Linked DNA regions of Homo sapiens: region 1 is linked to region 2. The links are contacts of gene promoters, found by promoter capture Hi-C in blood cells and fetal thymus (Javierre and others, 2016). All regions are on one chromosome and are shown on one strand. The core of a region is centred on a gene start or on the middle of the fragment in contact, and the rest is flanking DNA. Distances in the headings are between cores, read along the strand shown.

Evidence for each region. Contacts are between HindIII fragments. The CHiCAGO score rates a contact against its expected background, and 5 or more counts as called.
Region 1: a contact is called between a fragment that was not itself captured here and the fragment with the promoter of SLC39A12 in region 2, in 1 of 17 cell types (M2 macrophages). The highest score is 6.9, in M2 macrophages.

The regions. Positions count from the first base shown.
Region 1 is chr10:18,202,317-18,205,016 of GRCh38, reverse strand. All of the region lies in intron 2 of CACNB2 (calcium voltage-gated channel auxiliary subunit beta 2), which reads right to left. Among named protein-coding and RNA genes, the nearest start is that of CACNB2-AS2, 58 kb to the left of the region's middle. The HindIII fragment of the contact is 512 bases long and covers 1,043-1,554 here.
Region 2 is chr10:17,950,493-17,953,192 of GRCh38, reverse strand. It overlaps SLC39A12 (solute carrier family 39 member 12), which reads right to left and starts at 1,275. Exons shown (of 13, transcript NM_001145195.2): 1 at 1,168-1,275; 2 at 1-2. The HindIII fragment of the contact is 2,620 bases long and covers 202-2,700 here.

The DNA.
Region 1 (2,700 bases), core at 49-2,548, 250 kb before region 2:
GTCTTGGGCATGAAAGCCAGACCTTTTTTTTTTTTTTTTTCTGGTAAAGTTTAAGGAATCCAGCAAGAAGTGAAGCATTTTACCACTAGTAGGAACTCATTAAATATTTGTGGCATTAAAATGAAATGAAGCCTACTCTTGAAATTGACTCTATACAGAAAGTACAGTATGGAATGCATATGTGATCAGAAGCAATAACATGTATATTCATTTACTCAACAAGTACTTTTGAATGTTTACTGTATTCTAGGCTGTTTGTCTGGATATCACCAAGTTCTGAATGTATAACGGTAAACAAAACAGGTAGTGTACTTGCCCTCGCAGAGCTTAACACATCCAAATCTATCATGCCATAGTTTTGTTATCTCACTAAATCCAGAGGTTAAATGATTTTGTGGCCTAAGGCCACACATAAAATGTCAGAGCAAAAATTACAAAGCAGGAAATTTGAATCCTATGACAGGTTTAACTTTGAAGAAACTAAATTTTAAAAGAAAAACTATCACTTTCAAGAAAGAAAATAAAAGATTCTGCTTTTGTCAATTAGAGCAAGATTTCCTTATCCCACTGATATTTCAAATAGCCTGGTTAACAAAGGCACAATTCACATCTACAAATAATGTTAGGTCCACCTATTCTACTTAGTAACGGGTGTTTAGTGGTGATGTGTCATTTCATGCTAGACTTTGTTGGTTAATGTATAATCAATATGTTTCATTATAAGGTCAGTCATGAAAAGCATAAATGACACTTTATACAAAAGTTTACATGCAGTGGCTGCAAACACACCATAGCAACAGGGAGAGATTGATGAAAAAGGTTTGGTTTCTATAGCAACTATCGTAGGGACCATCTGTAAGCTGAACTGCAGCAACGGAAGCAAAATGAACACTTTAAAAGTCTGCAGTAGGTCTCTTTGTCTATTTAAACATAATGTTAAAATTAAACGTTTTTTCTCCTATAAGGATAAGCTTCCTCTTTTATTTGCCATTTTGCAATCTGATTGCTTTTTTGTTTGAATGAGCCTGTTTTTATTGAAGCTTATAAATCCAACCTTTACAAAAACGACTGTATTTTCCTACTGAAACTTCTATGCACAAATGAACAATCACAAACACAATTGGCAAAAGCAGAGAAACATGGATTGTGAAAAATTTTAGTATATTTCAAAAGACAGACTATAAAATGCTATTATAAGAACTACGGTTCTTTATTTAGTATCTTTTTTTTTATTCCAACAACCTGCTTTTCATAACAGTCACCACTAGCAAAAAGCAGAGGGAAATTACAACACAATTACTTGTTCATTCTTCATTACCATATATGTAATTGTGTTGTTCCCTCTACAGCCTCCGCTAAAATAATCAACGATCACTCGCCCCGTTATGTTTCTCTATGTATATACACACATACATATGTATGTACGTGTGGGTGTTTATTTATTCATGTTTCCCCCTCATTAAGTCATCTTTTTTTGAAGGTACTCATTGATGTAATGTGGAAAAATAGAGCATTTTAATCTTGAATAAAATTGCTACCTTTATAAGGAAAGCTTTTCTGCTCTCACTCACGGTGTGTTACCCAAAGGATACAAAGGACAAGAGAAAGCTGTAAATATCAAACAAGGAAAAGTGACTAATGCCAGCCAAGGTACAAAACCCTTTTTCAGATAGAGGGGTCACTTTTCACAGCATCCATGCTAACCTGCCCGGCTTGTAAAGTTGCCATGCTGCAACCACAGCTTGGCTGGTATTTAACTACTCTGTGATATCATTCGGCTATAATTTCGACTCTCCAAGCATCTGCCTGTGTCTACTTCAAGCTGGCTGACCAGAATACAGATGAAAGAACAAAATTTTCACTAAGAATTGGATCTAGATGCTGTGGCATATTCCTGTGTCTCTTTTGTACCCATGAGGTACTGCAGAATATTGCAGAAACCTGCTTCAGACCCTGTAGTCTGATATTTTCAAAGAGTGAGTGACAGAATCTTAAAGCATCAATCAAGGAAAATGTTCAGTGATGGCTCGCTTAATGGGGACTCTGTTAACAGCTTTCCCAGTGATGAAAATCCAGTCTTGCTTAACAACAGAGATAATAGGAAACTGACTGAATTATACAGTGTCAGTCTGTATGTCAAGAAAGGGAATTTCAGCATAAAAATGTCACAGATTACAAAGTATGTGCTTCCTGAAACAAAGACAGAAAGGCAAAGAACTTGCTATTTCTTGACGTTACTACATTCCAGATGGATCTTACTCCACAGCCACAACACAGAAGAGATAAACATTCCAAAATAGAACCTGAGAATGGTTCTGGAACTATAGACACTGGCTCAACCTTTTCAATTCATGCCATTGGGCGGCCAATGACTGAGAAATTACTCTGTTCCAGGAACTATACTAAATCCTTAAACTATATCATCTCTAATTTGCTTAAGCCCTTATAGATTGTGTATTATTATCCTTGCTTTACAGATGAGAATGTGAAGTTTTTAAAGGAGTTAAAAAAAAACTTGAAGTAAACAGATGAGCTGATACTTACACCGAGGATATTTTTGACCCCAAAATCCCATGGTTTGGTCCCTATAATATATGGTGGCTCATTTGAGAGTTAGAGAAACCAAGGCCCAGAGAAGATCAGTATATGTACTCAATCATAGCCAGAGAAGAAACTAGAAATTCGATCTGTGTAACCGAG
Region 2 (2,700 bases), core at 26-2,525:
TTCTGTGGTAAAGGGGAAAAATAAAGCCTTCAATTATTGTGCCTGCAACATGTTTGAAAGGATTCATTAATTGGGTGGCTAAGCTGATTTGCAATGACAAGCTGTTTCTACACAGCGGGGGTCTGTAGGTAATTTCTAACCCCAAATGGCAGGAAAGCACCATGGCTGTAGACTTTCAAACTGCACAGCAGCCAAAAAGCTTGCTAGATTCTCTCTCCCTAAACTAAACATAGCGTCACGTAAGTTTCTCCATTTACCAACAGGTGGTACAAGTTATAGGACCCAGGTTGGGAAACACCTTATGTTTATCCCATTATAAAGAACTCCAAGTGATTCATGGTCCTCATGAAAAAGAGAAAATAAATTCTACTAAATGACCAACATCATGTTGAGTTTAAAAGTTTTAGGCCAGGCGCGGTAGCTCACACCAGTAATCCCAGCACTTTGGGAGGCTGAAGCAGGCAGATCACGAGGTCAGGAGTTTGAGACCAGCCTGGCCAATATGGTGACACCCCCGTCTCTACTGAAAATACAAAAATTAGCCAGGTATGGTGGCACGTGCCTGTAGTCCCAGTTACATGGGAGGCTGAGGCAGAAGAATTGCTTGAACCCGGGAGGCGGGGGTTGCAGTGAGCCAAGATCGTGCCACTGCACTCCAGCCTGGGCGACAGAACAAGACTCCATCTCAAAAAAAAAAAAAAGAAAAAAGAAAAAAGAAAAAAAAAGAGTTTTAGACAAGGAAAAGCACTAGAAGAAAATAGTAATGTTCAGAAAACACAGGTCTTTTTTTTAGTTTACTAAGAATCAAGATTCTAGAGCAGGAAGCATCTTAGAAAAACAGAATTTCGAGACCTCAAGAACATGACACACACACACACACACACTCACTCAGTGGTGACTAAAGGAGTGGGGGATGACTTTAGAGCCAATCAACTTCCTGGAAAAAAAAATTATCTTTCTGTTGATGGCTTAAGGCATGTAAAATGTTAACAGCATCTCATGTCCGATCCTGGCCCAGAGATGAGCTGGTAAATGACTGTGGGCTAGTAACAAAGGTACTGGGATTACTTTTATGAGTTAAAAACAACAACAACACTTTAAGGTTGTTATGTTAGCAATTTAAAAGTGACAGAGGATGATGCAAGCATTTCTAACCCCAGTGCTTACCTTCAGAAGAAAGATAAACGATTCTTTATCTGGAGCTCCACAGCCTTTTAAATCCTGGAGAGTATTTCACAGTTACAAAGTTCCCTGTTTTTAAAATTCTTTGACTGTGCACTGGGAGCTAGAGAGGATTATTTCAGCCCAGAAAAGTTTTCAGTTGCTATGGAGAGAGCTGCTCTGAAGGTAACAATGAAGGTGGATAAAAGGGAGAACTTTCTGTCTGGTAGATTTTCAAGGTAATCAAATCAGTGTGGTTCATGAATTTAACTTTTTAGATCAAGAATTAACCAATTTTCTTAGGCTCACCTACTGTCACTTGCCTTTCAAGGGACAGAATCTAGGTCAAAGGATTTCACCTCGCAGAATAGAAAGACTTCAGTGTTAGATGAAGATTTTTTCCTCTCCAGTTGATTCTGTAATAACTGTTTCATCCAGGCTCAAACCAAAGATTTGTTGAAAAGATAGGCTCTTTGGAACCATATTTGTTTTGCAAGATGCAGAAGCCTAAAAGATTGAAGTCTTTCGTAATGAGATGCTTTCAAATGAAAAGTATTGGTTGAAGGAATGAAATTCTTACCAGGGATGTAGGTAGCATAAATGAGGAACTTTAATCAGCTGCATATATTGTGATCACCAGCACCGGTGGTAGTTCTTACATCAGATCCTTCATGCTCCTCAAAACAAAACCTCTCAACAAATTATTAGTGAATAAATGACTAAAGGAACAAAGTGGTTCATTTTCTAGGAAGCAAGAGAAGTTAAATCCTAAGATTTCAGAGTGGGCAGAATGCATGCCCACAGTATAGGGGTTTAAGTCAGCTGGTGGGCAGGTAGAGGAAATTTGAGATCAGGATGATTAGCCTCATCACTAATTGTATATGAAACACGGGAACCCTGCGGTAGGATATTCCTGAGAGAATGCTAGTAATGAGAGATGACAACTTGCTAGCAGCCCTGGCTCGCTCTTGGCGCCTCCTCAGCCTCAGCTTCAGCTCTCTCCGTCTTCAAGGAGCCCTTCAGCCCGCCGCTGCGCTGTGGGGGACCCTCTCTGGGGCTGGCCGAGGCCGGAGCCGGCTCCCTCTGCTTGCCGGGAGGTGTGGAGGGAGAGGCGTGGGCGGGAACTGGGGCTTGATCAGAGGCTGAATCCCGTGCGTGGACCAGAACGTTGGCCACGATGGCGGGTCTCCATCTCTTTCTTGCTTCCCGTCTTTTGCTCTTGATTGTCTGGGACGAGCTCCCTCTAGGCTGCTGGAGTGCCCGGGCTAGGTGCTCCGGATAGGTGCCACAAAGTCCCGTGGCTAGTGCCAGTGAGAGGTGAAGCCAGCTGGGCTTCTGGGATGGTGGGGACTTGGAGAACTTTTCTGTCTAGCTAAAGGATTGTAAAAGCACCAATCAGCGCTCTGTGTCTAGCTAATCTGGTGGGGACTTGGAGAACGTTTGTGTCTAGCTAAAGGATTGTAAGCACACCAATCAGCACTCTGTGTGTAGCTAAAGGTTTGTAAACGCACCAATCAGCACTTTGTCAAAATGACCAAT